Regions from separate parts of the Homo sapiens genome. Here regions 1 and 2 are each linked to region 3. Evidence: promoter capture Hi-C in 16 types of primary human blood cells and fetal thymus (Javierre and others, 2016). All regions are on one chromosome and are shown on one strand. The core of a region is centred on a gene start or on the middle of the fragment in contact, and the rest is flanking DNA. Distances in the headings are between cores, read along the strand shown. Region 1 overlaps P3R3URF-PIK3R3 (P3R3URF-PIK3R3 readthrough). Region 2 overlaps P3R3URF-PIK3R3 (P3R3URF-PIK3R3 readthrough). Region 3 holds the start of PIK3R3 (phosphoinositide-3-kinase regulatory subunit 3).

Region 1 (4,802 bases), core at 1,815-4,314, 75 kb before region 3:
GTTACATGCATCAAGGTCACCCATAGATGCATTTCAAAACAGTCTATTCGTTACCCAGAACTAAGCCCAATATCCAGGATCTTCCTTTCTCATGCATTCTGTCCTATGAAGCAGTTATTTATGTTTCTAAAAATATAATTCACACATTTTATTCTGATACTATCTTTCCATTTATATTTGTATATTATCTCTATTATGCCTATATTTGGCTAAATTATATAGTTTTCCCTCATACTAAAGAATTAGGTTTCACTACTCAAATTACCTCAAGTGCCTTCTATAGATACATTTCTGTTATTTAAATAAAGAATGTCATTTTGTTTTTGTTGTTGTTTTTGAGACTCACTCTGTTGCCCAGGCTGGAGTGCAGTGGCACGATCTCGGCTCACTGCAACCTCTGCCTCCCAGGTTCAAGCGATTCTCCTACCTCAGCCTCCCAAGTAGCTGGGATTACAGGCGCCCACCACTATGCCCAGCTAATTTTTTGTATTTTTAGTACAGACAGGGTTTCACCATCTTTTTTTTTTTTTTTTTCCCAGATGGAGTCTCACTCTGTCACCCAGGCATGGAGTGCAGTGGCGTGATCTCGGCTCACTGCAACCTCCGCCTCCAGGGTTCAAGTGATTCTCCTGCCTCAGCCTCCTGAGTAGCTGGGATTACAAGAATGTGCCACCACGCCCAGCTAATTTTGTATTTTTAGTAGAAACGGAGTTTCACTATGTTGGCCAGGCTGGTGTCTCGAACTCCGGACCTCAGATGATCTGCCTACCTCGGCCTCCCAAAGTGCTGGGGTTACAGGCGTAAGCCACAGTGCCCAGCCTAGAACCTACTTCCCCTCAGAGGAAATAGAAATTCCCCACTCAGTTCTAGTATGTAAACAAAGATTCTGATTTTTATGTTTTAGGCAAACATTAATCTGTTCTTGTTAAGATATAGCATTTTACTCATGCCACAGCCAGCCTCTGAGATTTCCAAGGCATTTGTATGGATCAAGAGTCCTACATTCTGGTTTGCTCCACATATTAACTTCAGATTAACTCTGGTACCCCCTACAACTACCAAGGACACTTTCCTAAATTCTTACCATCTTACTGGCCAATTCTCAATTACAAATCTCTAATCTCTTCTTCCACCTCTAGTGTCTCTAGTGCTGGTAGTAACCTGGCACTAACGTCTCCCTCCCCATACACTCCCAGACTACTTACACAAGGTGTTGATCTCGGATCTTTCGCAGCTGGATCAGGTCAGGTTTGATGCTATTCATTTTTTTATCTATTTCTCGGTTGTCCAAAGCTTGATTCTTCAAATCCTGCTCTAGACGCATTTTGCTATCATGAATCTCACCCAGACGTGATTTCAATTTATCATAATTCATCATAATTCTGTAAAAATATTTGACATGTTAAGGCTAAAATAGAAATCAAGCAGACAGATCCTACTGGGTGAGCACGGTCCTAATATCCTTTTTTTTTTTCCCTTGAGATTGAGTCTCGCTCTGTCACCCAGGCTGGAGTGTAGTGGCATGATCTCGGCTCACTGCAACCTCCGCCTCCCGGGTTCAAGCAATTCTCCTGCCTCAGCCTCCCCAGTAGCTGGGATTACAGGCGCATGCCACCACACCCGGCTAATTTTTGTATTTTTAGTAGAGATGGGGTTTTGCCATGTTGACCAGGCTGGTCTCAAACTTCTAACCTCAGGTGATCTGCCTGCCTCAGTCTCCCAAAGTACTGGGATTACAGGCGTGAGCCATTGCACCCAGTGAGGTCCTAATATCTTAAGCGTGGTGAACATTTGTTTTTGCCTGGCCCATATCCATTCCCATTTCTGGTATTAGCACCCTGATGTTCCCTGGAGGTAAGGATTCATTCCCCCGTCTCAGATCCAGGGATGGAAACACACATGGCCCAGACTGGCCAATAAGAATATTCCACTCTATCCCATCCCTACCCTCAGGCCACAGTGACGGTTCAGGAATAGGAATAAAACTCAAACTGACCCAATGAGAGTCAATTCTAGAACATTTGCTAGAACTGTATTGTTAAAATAAATTCTCTCTTTCCACACAAATTGCTAAATTATGAATATGCAGTTCTCATCCCAGCAGCTATACTGTCACTTCACCGGCAATGCCTGCCTGAGGATAAAATCAACCCAGAGAAAAACTGAGCCAAAATACAACATGAGAGAGAATCCCAATAACCTTGTTTGGGCCCTGAATCCAGCAATGACTGAACAAGTAAAGCTATACATTTGATATTCCAGAGGTAGCATAACACAACAGTTAAGAACAATGGTTTTGCAATTAGCCTACCTACATCTGAATCTCTGCTGTCACTTGCTGTGGGGCCATGGGCAAGTTATTTAACTTCTCAGTGCCTTCATTTCCTCATCTGTTTAAAATGGTGATATGGTTTGGCTGTGCCCTCACCCAAATCTCATCTTGAATTGTACTCCCATAATTCCCACATGTTGTAGGAAGGACCCGGGAATAGATAACTGAATCATGGGGGCGGTTCCCCCATACTGTTCTCGTGGTAGTGAATAGGTCTCACAAGATCTGATGGTTTTATCAGGGGTTTCTGCTTTTGCATCTTCCTCATTCTCTCTTTGCCTGCTGCCATCCATGTAAGACGGGACTTGCTCCTCTCCTTGCCTTCCACCATGATTGTGAGGCTTCCCAAGCCACGTGGAACTGTAAGCCTAATTAAGCCTCTTCCTTTTGTAAATTGCCCTGTCTTGGGTATTTCCTTATCAGCAGCATGAAAACGGACTAATTTAGTAAATTAGTACTAGTAGAATGGGGCACTGCTGAAAAGATACCCGAAAATGGGGAAGTGACCTTAAAACTGGGTAACAGGCAGAGGTTGGAACAGTTTGGAGGGCTCAGAAGAAGACAGGAAAATGTGGGAAAGTTTGGAACTTCCTAGTGTTGAATGGCTTTGCCCAAAATGCTGATAGTCATATGGACAATAAGGTCCAGGCTGAGGTGGTCTCAGATGGAGATGAGGAACTTGTTGTGAACTGGAGCAAAGGTGACTCTTGTTACGTTTTAGCAAAGAGATTGATAGCATTTTGCCCCTGCCCTAGAGATTTGTGGAACTTTGAACTTGAGGGAGATGATTTAGGATATCTGGCGGAAGAAATTTCTAAGCAGCAAAGCATTCAAGAGGTGACGTGGGTGCTCTTAAAAGCATTCAGTTTTAAAAGAGAAACAGCATAAAAGTTTGAAAAATTTGCAGCCTGACAATGCAATAGAAAATAAAATTCCATTTTCTGAGGAGAAATTCAAGCCGGCTGCAGAAATTTGCATAAGTAACAAAAAGCCAAAAGTTAATCCCCAAGACAATGGGGGAAATGTCTTCAGGGCATGTCAGAGGTCTTCAAGGCAGCCCCTCCCATCAAGCCCTGGAGGCCTAGAGGAAAAAGGAGTTTCGTGAGCTGGGCCCAGGGTCCCTGAGCTGTGTGCAGCCTAGAGACTTGGTGCCCTGCGTCCTAGCCACTCCAGCCATGGCTGAAAGGGGCCAACATAGGGCTCAGGCCATGGATTCAGATGGTACAAGCCCCAAGTCTTGGCAGCTTCCATGTGGCATTGAGCCTGCAGGTGCACAGAAGTCAAGAATTGGGAACCTCCACCTAGATTTCAGACGTATGGAAACACCTGGATGCCCAGGCAGAAGTTTGCTGCAGGGGCGGGGCTCTCATGGAGAACCTCTGCTGGGGCAGTGTGGAAGGGAAATGCGGGGTCGAAGCCGCCACACAGAGTTCCTACTGGGGCACCGCCTAGTGGCACTGTGAGAAGAAGGCCACTGTCCTCCAGACCCCAGAATTGTAGATTCATTGACAGCTTACACCGTGTGCCTGGAAAAGCCGCAGACACTCAAGGCCACCCTGTGAAAGCAGCCAGGAGGGAGGCTGTACCCTGCAAAGCCACAGGGGCGGAGCTGCCCCAGACCATGGGAACCCATCTCTTGCGTCAGCATGTCCTGGATGTGAGACATGGAGTCAAAGGAGACCATTTTGGAGCTTTAAGATTTGACTGTCCTGCTGGATTTCAGACTTGCATGGACCCTGTAGCCCCTTTGTTCTGGCCAATTTCTTCCATTTGGAACAGGTGTATTTACCCAATGTCTGTACCCCCACTGTATCTAGGAAATAACTAGCTTGCTTTTGATTTTACAGGCTTATAGGCAGAAGAGACTTGCCTTGTCTCAGATGAGACTTTGGACTGTGGACTTTTGAGTTAATGCTGAAATGAGTTAAGACTTTGGGGGACTGTTGGGAATGCATGATTGGTTCTGAAATGTAAAGATAAAGGATTTGGGAGGGGCCAGGGGCAGAATAATATGGTTTGGCTGTGTCCCCACCCGAATCTCCTCTTGAATTGTACTCCCATAATTCCCACATGCTGTGGGAGGGACCAAGGTGAAACAACTGAATCATGGAGGCGGTTTCCCCACTACTGTTCTCATTGTAGTGAGTAAGTTTCACGAGATCTGATGGTTTTATCAGGGATTTCTGCTTTTGCATCTTCCTCATTCTCTCTTTGCCTGCTGCCATCCATGTAAGACGTGATTTGCTCTTCCTTCCCTTCCACCATGATTGTGAGGCTTCCCTAGTCACGTGGAACTGTAAGTCCAATTAAATCTCTTCTTTCTGTAAACTACCCCAGTCTCAGGTATGTCTTTATCAGCAGCATGAAAATGGACTAATACAAATGGGTACCTACAACAGTACTTACTTCACTGGGTTTTTCTGTTAATTAAATGTGACAATACATGTAAAGGACAAAAACATTCCCTGAC
Region 2 (4,709 bases), core at 165-2,664, 91 kb before region 3:
GTATCTCCTCTCGCCTTTCCCCCTACCCTCCCCAACAATTGCACAGCAATGTCTGAACACATCTGGTGACAAGAACAATTTGTAAAGTGGTCTAGCAACTACATTATGAACTGTCCCATCACAAGACATACAGTTGGCTTTCTTGTGAGTCAGATATTTTTACGTAAACTACACGAATTTTCTTGGACACATCAAAGACAACAGAATAGATTTTTCACAAGTAACGGCACCAAAGTCACATGCTGGAATTTGTAAGGAAACGAGGTTGTTTGCCACAAGTGGCTGGAGCTAAAGCAGGTTTGAGCAGTTGGCAGCAGAGGGCCCAAGCAGGCCCCCTATCTGGACCCTCTGGTTTCTGAGGCCACTGAAGCCTCACAGAGGCCTACTCTGGGTTGTTAAATAGCAGCAGAGACCACCTTAGAAAACAGGAATTGCCCAGGTGCAATTCTCAGTTTAAGAGAACACATGGGGCTGATTACTTGTAGCAAAAAAGAGACCCGTGGAAGACACATTGGCTCTCAAAGCTTCTTCAAAGCACATGAGGCCTAAATAAGTGGAGGTCCCATCAAGGCTTGGAGAGGGAGTGAAAGTGTTGGGAGGGCCTCATTCTTGGCCAGATCAGTGGTAAGGACGCAGGCAGTCTATCCAGGCCCGAATCATGGCGTGCCATCTAAGGCCAGGTGGAGACAACACTGTTCTGTGATGAAAGCTTCACCTGGAAACAATGGGCCTAGTACCTGTGTCCAGCCAGCCCCAAGCTGCTTGCATGTCAGTAGCTGGGTTCTCTAGCCAGGGGTATAATGAACCCCTCTGATCTTGGTCTCTCTTTGCCCTCTGCCTCATTGAAACTGCAGTTAAGATGCCAAGACAGTCCCAGGGTCCAGATCATGGGACAGGACATGGCACTAGACTCTCATGAAGGAGGCCAAGACCTGCTCCCAAGTCATGGGCGTAGAGAAGCACCTTGCTACCCTCTCCCCCTCTACACACCAGGCCCAGTGGGTAGTAGACTGGTCCCTATGCCATTTCCACAGGCTCAGGGTCAAGCAAGTCATGTGGCAACTGGTCAGAAAAGATACTGTCAAACCTCTCAAATGACCCCTGGGTCTTAGATCCCACAAAACAATGAATTCAAGAATGAAAAAAAAAATGAAGGAATGTAGGACTGAAAAAAAGCAGCCCTTCTCCACAAGCCAGCCCAAGTGTAGATAAAGATGGTACTTGGTCTCTCCCTGCACACCGCTGGTGTCTGCCCAACAAGGAGCAGACACATTACTGAATACTACAGCCCTGTATCTGTATTTCCATTTTGGTTTAAAAGACACTCAGAACACACTGAAATTTTAGTACCAGATGGGAGGGATTCCTTGCACGTAATCTTGAGCATCCACCTGCTTCAGCAGGTTCAACACCAGGTGCAAAGCCATCCAGGTGTGCCCAACAGCAATTAGCTTGGTATTATTCAGTAAAACTTTCAGTTAAGATTTCAATTGACAGTTTGGGGAAGGGATGTGCTGGCTATTAGTTAAATGACTTTAGAGGGGGGTTCATTTGTCTCTGTCTCACCCAATCCTGAAACTGCAGTGTAACCAAGAAAAAGCCAAAGAGAAGCACTTCCCTTTCTATCCTCGTCACTAGTAACTGGAGGTTTTTCCAAAATTAAAAATCTGTGTCTACATCATGGTCCATATTTTAGACCCTGTCATGGAAATAAGTGCTCAGGTAAACTAATATTTTTCTTTCACCCCCAGAACTAGAGCTTTCCTAGCTGTAAGCCTTATAAACCAAGATGCAGGTACTGGCTTCTCTAGCTCAGCCAGGGTGCCTGACTGCACAGCTTTGGGTTCAAACAGCTGACTCACTCTGAGCCTATTATGGTCCCAGGATTGGCTCAGAGGCAGCTGGACTCTATTTGTCAAATGAGTGTTGACTGATGGGTGTGGGGCATGATGGGGGCAGGAATAGATGCCTGCCCCCACTCCATTTGCCTAGCTTCACTCAGCTGGAAGGCTTAAGCCACATGGAGCAGAAGATTCCTGGCCTAAAATCAAGGCCACTGGAGCAGGAGGGCAGACTGCACATAGCCTTAATGGCAGGATCACAAAAAAAGGCAAAGAGAAAAGCTTCCAGATGGCTTCTACTAACAGTCTAAACACTAAGCCATCTTCTCTCCCTGCAAAAGCTTCAGAAACCACTGTATGGAAGCACATGTGTAATGTGGTGTGACTCTCACCCTGGACCACAGGGCCCCTGGGTCTGTGATTTACTGAGGCACCTGACCACAATCTGACTCCCCTCCTTAGCAACCTATAGCTCCCAAAACCCCATCCAGCAAAGGAGGGGGAAATGAAGGGAAATTAAACCATGTTTACTATTTCTGCAGGGCCTTTAAACTTGGGGAAGCACATATAATAATGTTGTTCTATATTGTTATTTGGTATATCAAGCCATCTAAAAGCACTGCATTGCACCTTTTCTTTACTCATACAAACAAGTTACAAAGGTTTCAAACAACAGATCATTCTTTAGGCTAAGGAAACACCATACAAGCACCAACTTCATTTTATGATTCAAAGCTCACCATCCCCACAAAAAGAATGCTATTCCTCATCTCAGAGAAACAGGCAGGAAGGACAGAAGGGGTTAGTTACAGTGATCAATTTTAGCGTTTGCTAAAACTCACAAATTCTAGTCTTTTTATGTTCAAGTTTTGGTACAGAAGTATACATTCAACTATGAGTGCCACGTTTTCCCATCAAACATTGGTCTGGCAACAAACTGTTTTGTTGGCTTCTGAACATAATACTTCTTCAGAGGGAGGGGCTGGTGAGATGCTGAAGCCTAAATTATGTTGGTAAGAAACAAAATACCTTCAGTTGAAGGTTTTTTTTATCATCTTGGCTTAGATTATTTAAATGAAATCCCAAGCCTCCCCATTTTCCTTTGGTTGTCTTTTTCATCAAATCCCATTCTATCACAAAACCTAAACAGCCTTCTTCGTGGGGGGAAGAGAGACTGCCAAAGCAAAACACAACTCCCAGCAGAGCCATGCCCCTGCTGCACTCTCAAGAGTTAGATTTTAAAAAGACATGGTCTCTTCAGAGGCTTCCAAATACAACCCCACCCGCTATAACCATCAAGCCTAATATTCTGTTGAGGGTGTCTGGCTAAACAAAACAAAAACCCCAATGAAACAGACTTTCAAAAAAAACATCTGCTTCCAGCTTAGTATGTCAGTGCAGCGGCATGGCTGAGTCCTAGAGAACCTCAGGCCTCTAATGCCCCCATCCCGGCCGGCTGCTGCTCGGCCTCTCCACTTCACATTCACAAAATCACTTCTTGTGCAAAACAAGCAGTCTATGTAGAAAGAATGCCCTCATCGTAGTCTAATAAAAACTGTAGAAAAAAATGCCAGAGAACCACCTCTCTTCCCACTTCCTCTTTATCTGCAAAGCGAGGGCATCTGTGCATGAACAGGGTAGGCAAGCCTGACGTTGAGGGAGTCGTTGTGCTGAACCAAGGATGTCTGCTGGTAATGGAGCACTAGCTCCTTCAGAGAGCTGTACAGGTTGTAGGGCTCTGCAAAGCCATAGCCCCGAGCAGTGCTGTAGATCACACAGTGCTTCACTTCCCCATCGGCCCTGCAATGACAAACCACAGAAGAAATGTTAAGGTAGGTAACAATAGATAAAAGGACACTAAATGGCCAGAAGTCTGAGAGCAATTGTTATGCAAACAAGTGTTTTTTGTTAACCAGGCAAAGCTTGTGAAATTGCGTTCCCATTCCCTACAGACTTGGCCACAGATACGGGTGTTAAAACAACCACAAATGTAAGGGTTTATTTATTTCTTTTTTTTTTTTTTAGACAGGGTCTCGCTCTATCACGAAAGCTAGGGTACAGTGGCTTGATTACAGCTCACTGCAGCCTTGAACTCCTGGGCTCAAGTGATCCTCCCACCACAGCTTCCCAAGTAGCCGGGACTACAGGTGTGAGCCACATGCCCAGCTACTTTTTTATTTTTAGTAGAAATGGGGTCTTGCTATGTTGCCCAGGCTGGTCGTGAACTCCTGGGCTCAAGGAATCCTCCTGCCTTAGCCTATTAAAATGCTGGGATTACAGGTGTGAGCCACCACGCCCAGCCAAGGGTAGTTTTTGATTAATCAGTTTATGTAAGGACTGCAGCCAAGTCCTGAACCTACAGGCTGCCACCCAATAACCTGAGTGACAGTGAGCGACTGGGCTTACTGCCTTCCTTCTTTTTATTATTCTTAGAAGATCCTAAGTCTTACAAGAACCATTCTCGCCTACATTTCCACTCAGATAACTTCAACAGCCCAAGTCAAGGAGAAATGAAATGTTGCAAGTAGTTCTATCCTTGGATAACAGTAATCCAATGCACTTTTCAACTCCTCCCCCATTTTCTGCCCATAAGACATCCCATTCATCTTTTTGAGGTCCATCTCAGATACCTTTTCCACAAAACCTCCCAATCCGCTCTTTCTCCACTAAAATTAATGCTTCCACATGTGCACAGCCTACTAATAATACTTATTTCACAGTGGTTCTATTCATTGTGGATATTTGGTGAAATGAAAAAAGCCTGGTGCAATAGAAAAATGTGGGTTTTGAAACCAGGTAAACTTGGATTCAAACTCTGACTCCATGATACAAGTAGAGCACTATGAACAAGATGATCACATAAAGCAC
Region 3 (4,527 bases), core at 1,406-3,905:
CAGAATTTTCTATACAACCTTATAAGACCCACGTCTCCATATAGTTATAACAGTCAACTTTTCTTAAAATTATTTTTGGACAACTCAACTCAACTTGACCAGTATTTTTCTACTAGGCTAATATATTTCAACCATAAGTGCATTCTTCATTTTCTCCCCTCCTCCCTACTCACCTCCCACCCAACAAATTCCCTTTGTATGTCTGCAAGGCAAGGTACTATATAATGCAGTATAATTCTAAGGCAGTTTGAATATATAATTCTTATAACAGGAATCTAGAATTATTAACCTTACTTTTTACAATAAAAGTACCAGTGATGTACTAAATTTCTATTCATATGTATGACAAATGTATCTAACATGCTTTACCGTTAGGGGGAAACAAAGGGGGAAAGACACAATAGATGGGTGGCAAATCTTACAAACTTTACAAAACACTGAAAAGCTGCATCTGGATTGCAGTCACAATTATAAAAGCAAATAAAGCTCTGAAATAAAGGAAAAGAAAAAAATTCTAAGTGATCATCAAGAGTGAAAAAGGTTTATTCAATACTAGTTTTTAGTACAGCACCATTTAACACTGACTAATTGAAAAAAAAAACAGGATAATTCACCGTTTGCAAGGACACAGGAAACAATTTCTACATACCTTCTATAAGACAGTTACACTTCTTCACACTTGCATGGCTCAAATCCTTTCAAACGTTTCCAAAAATACAGTCTTATAATAAACGAGGTTCCCCAATGACACACATTTTATTCTGTAGACTTAGCCATAACACGTTTTAAAATACATAAAGAATTCATCCTCGACAGAAACAAGGAGTCACAAAGGCTCTCTACTTATTCAGAATCATTACATAAAACACCATCTGTAACTGCAAACAGGGTTTGAGAAAATCTGACAGCTAATAATCATAAAATGGGGTAGACTTTAAAGGAAAAAAAAGCCAACTTTTCCATTTTGCTTTCCTTTTCCTTTCCTACCAGATACACAAAATGTCTGTAATAGCGTCAGACAGAGCTTTAAAATAAAAATATAGTGCTATATATGTATACTTTACATTACGTGTATAGGAACACATATGTATATATCACACGTTCACAGGAAACAGAAAGGTTCCCTCGTTTTTGTTTTTGCTTTTTCTTTATTCTAGGAATTGAAGTTACATTAAACCCTATCCCATAAATTAAGTTAAATCATCATTAAATTAAAGAGTAATAAAATATTGCACGTAGATTTCTCTGAGCGACTATCTTCTGAGAAGGAAAACCTCAGACTAAGACCATGGCTGAATACGAACGCCCAATCCCTAAAAAAAATCACTAACCGGCATTTGTTTCTGCAAGAGAAAAAGGGAGTCTTACAATGAATAATCACATAACTCAGTTTCAGAAGTTAACCGGGGTAAAACACAACGAACCAAATTAGACAAATGTATGAAAGGACAAGCTTTCAAGAATTCGCCCAAAGTGAAAGACTGGTTTTAACCCCGGGATATAAAACATCCTTTGCAGGTAGAAGAGTCTTTAATTGAAAAAGAAAAAAATAAAATAAAGTGGCGGGCACAAGAAAAACCTGAACGACACGCAAAGGCAAAGTAAAAAATAATGATAATTTTAAAAAGGGGTCTCTCCTCCCACCCCCACTTCCAGCCCCCACCCCCACCTTCGCAGGACAATAGGATCAGGGTCCTAACTGCAAACTTTAAACGTGTAAACCAGAAGCAGTTTTACCGCAGCTGTAACTGCAAATCTCCTCATCCCGAACCTAGCGCACCCAGGAATACTTCTGCCCTGAAAACATCAGCAAGCTCTTGGTAAATACAAATCAGACCCATCACGAGATTCTTTTTTTTTTTCTCCCAAGTACCTGGAGGATCCATTTCAATATAAAATATCAGTTCTGTCGAATAGGGCATCATCACCTCCCTCCAGTCTGCGTCATCGCGGTCCATACTCCACACCGTATTGTACATCGCGCTGTCAGGGGCAGGTCGCCAGGAGATATATAGAAGGCATATATTTTTTATCTGGTATTTAAAAATCTAAAAATATATATCTGCAAAAGTTCCACACGGAAATGTACTTCGGGTTTTCCAACGGCCAGTACCAGTCCGGCCAAACTACCCGAACAGGGTCCTCCCCCTCTCTCCTACAGAACACAACAAAATGCCCCCGAACTTTCAAGCTATGGGCTTTTCTCCTCAGAGGATTACACAGAGGCTTGGGGGACGGAGAGCAGAGGTGTTAAAAAGCGGCTTCCCAAAAATCCTTTCTACACAGTCGCTCTCCGGGGAGAAAAGCTCCCACCGCCTCCAAATCTTTCCGCGGAAGCCACTTTTGTGTCCTTCGAAGGAGGGAGAATGAAGAGGAAAAAAAAGAACACGTTGGGAGAAACCCGGGCAAGTGACAAAGGAAGGCAAAAAAGGGGGCTGGAGATTGCGTTCAAGTTTCGGGGTCCCACTGGTCTGCAGAGAGCGAATCCCCCAGAGGCCGGGACTCGGGCTCCTCTCCGGTCGGTCTCGGAACCGAAGCTGCCGCAGCCTCGGGAATGGGGCCGGCCGGAGAAGTCCAGTCAGCTCGGCTTGTCTGGGCGCTCCCGCCGGGGTGTAAGAACCAACCCGACCGCACCAACTGCCCTCAAGCTCTGCCCGGACTCCAGCCACTAGAGTTTCATTTTAACGGCGCGGAGGGGACACCCTCCCCGCCCCATGCTGCCCACCCGCTGAGGCGCCACCCAACCGCGCCGGGAGGGGGGACAGCAGGCATCACCACCGCCCCTTCCACGCCGTCCCGCCTCGATGTACCGGGATTCTGTCAAGTGCCTGAGAACATGTTCAAAAAGCTGCTCTCCATCTCGACTTTCACGTCTCCCCACCGCTCTCTAGGCTTCGGCTCCCCAATCAGCCATCCGCGCTCTCCCCCAGCCTCAATCAGAATGGTACGATCCGGGCGCTGGCCGCACTCCAGGAGTCAGTGCCGGGAGCACGCGAGCCAGGCGAGGAGGGAGTGGGGCGAGGGAAGAGAGGCAAGGTGGGTGGTGATTGGCTGAGGCCGGTTGCCGGAGCCTGGAGCCTGCGTCTTTTGTCTGCCTTGCTCCTGCGAAGGAGCGGGAGACGGCTGCGCGCCCCAAGCGGGCCAATCAGGAGACAGCCGGCGCCGGCCGGTAAGGCGGCGATTGGTCAGAGCCCAGTTACTAAGCGGGACAAAGGCAGAAGGGGAAAAGAAAAGAGGAGGAAAAAAAAGAAAGAAAGAAAGGAAGAAAACGCAAACGGCGGTTACTGACAGGCTGGGCGAGCGCTCGGGGGCTCAAACTGCCTGGAGACAGGCGGGGCTCCTGCTGAGGCTTGGTCCGCCCGGACGAGTAAGGAGAGGAGCCAGGGAGGACCTGCTGGCGTGAGACGCCTCTGCCCGGTGATTGGCCGCGGGGGAAGGGAGCGGACACAGAGGGGGCACGTTCTGTCACTTGGCGGGGTGCGCGCTCTTCTGGTCCTTAGGAGGTCTCTGGGGAGACTCCTTTCCTACAGACCTCTTCACCTTGCTGGGACAGCCCTCTCCGCACCCTTGACAAGTTGTCAAAGCAATGGTCCCCAAACCCACTTGCCACCTTACCACTCAGGGAGAGGATGTGCCCGTGGCCCCTGCAACCTTCCTGGCTGCTACCTGACCCCACTCCCTGCTTCTCCCCTTGAGCAATTGGACATTTCTGAGGGAGGCATTTCGCAGTTCCTCTGTGCTTCCCACCCAAAGACTTTTGAACCCAGAGGTAACTCCCCACGCCTAAAATAGTGAGAGGTCTCAGCAAGCCCTCCTGCTCGAGTGCTCAAACCAATTAAAAAAAAAAAAAGTCTTGGAATTACAGTGCATGTGTAATTTCTAAGATAAGTCACAGGTGTTGGAATCTCTCACCAAAAGGGCTCTATTCTGTTTCCCTGACAGACCCTCTTCCTCACATACTCATTCCCACCCCCAAAGCTTAAATCTGGGAGATTGGCTTCACTATGAAAATGCTGAATATTTCCATGCATTTCAGAAACAGCTAATTAACTTGCTGGGGAACACTGAATAGCTAAAAGCAGATTTGTGTCTCCTGAAGATTGTGCCTGGAATTGCCATCCTGTATACCCTACAATACAGTCTGAGGAGGCCAAAAACTGCTCCATTTCCTCTTTACACAGGAGTAACAAAGCCCATTGTGTTTGAGTTGACAGCCTGATTTAAGCCCTAGCAAAACCTCCTACCTTGAGCATGTCTGCTATATTGATTCGCCTATGGAAGAGTTGCCACGTTTCACCCTCTACCTCCTAAGGTGGTTCTGCCTTCCTTAAAGATGCCCTGAGTTGAGACAGTTCCTGAGGGCAGACAGTCAAAATGTATATGGACTGGGTATAGAGTAACTGGTTTAAAAGGGCCAGAAAGTATGGATGGACATGGTTGAGCTAAGAAAAGACACCAGGATTCTTATATGCTTTCTTATTATTTCTGAAATCCAAATATGATTTCAACTTTGGGGCAGGACTCATT

Evidence for each region. The method cuts DNA at HindIII sites, captures the fragments that hold promoters and counts their contacts. A CHiCAGO score of 5 or more calls a contact.
Region 1: a fragment that was not itself captured here is called in contact with the fragment with the promoter of PIK3R3 in region 3 in 2 of 17 cell types (M0 macrophages and endothelial precursors); the score reaches 5.4 in M0 macrophages.
Region 2: a contact is called between a fragment that was not itself captured here and the fragment with the promoter of PIK3R3 in region 3, in 12 of 17 cell types (total B cells, M1 macrophages, M0 macrophages and 9 more). The highest score is 12.3, in total B cells.

What each region holds. Positions count from the first base shown.
Region 1 is chr1:46,054,590-46,059,391 of GRCh38, forward strand. P3R3URF-PIK3R3 (P3R3URF-PIK3R3 readthrough) reads right to left here. Exons shown (of 10, transcript NM_001303427.2): 7 at 1,206-1,382. PIK3R3 (phosphoinositide-3-kinase regulatory subunit 3) reads right to left here. Exons shown (of 10, transcript NM_003629.4): 7 at 1,206-1,382. Among named protein-coding and RNA genes, the nearest start is that of PIK3R3, 76 kb to the right of the region's middle. The HindIII fragment of the contact is 3,547 bases long and covers 1,292-4,802 here.
Region 2 is chr1:46,040,231-46,044,939 of GRCh38, forward strand. P3R3URF-PIK3R3 (P3R3URF-PIK3R3 readthrough) reads right to left here. Exons shown (of 10, transcript NM_001303427.2): 10 at 1-3,641. The coding sequence ends at 3,443. PIK3R3 (phosphoinositide-3-kinase regulatory subunit 3) reads right to left here. Exons shown (of 10, transcript NM_003629.4): 10 at 1-3,641. The coding sequence ends at 3,443. Among named protein-coding and RNA genes, the nearest start is that of PIK3R3, 90 kb to the right of the region's middle. RefSeq lists enhancers at 2,816-3,660, 3,387-3,446, 3,661-4,504. The HindIII fragment of the contact is 1,414 bases long and covers 708-2,121 here.
Region 3 is chr1:46,129,974-46,134,500 of GRCh38, forward strand. PIK3R3 (phosphoinositide-3-kinase regulatory subunit 3) reads right to left here and starts at 2,656. Exons shown (of 10, transcript NM_003629.4): 1 at 1,874-2,656. The coding sequence starts at 1,979. All of the region lies in intron 1 of P3R3URF-PIK3R3 (P3R3URF-PIK3R3 readthrough), which reads right to left. It overlaps LOC101929626 (a long non-coding RNA gene), which reads left to right and starts at 3,398. Exons shown (of 3, transcript NR_125987.1): 1 at 3,398-3,417. RefSeq lists enhancers at 1,919-1,968, 3,209-3,438. The HindIII fragment of the contact is 2,525 bases long and covers 1,452-3,976 here.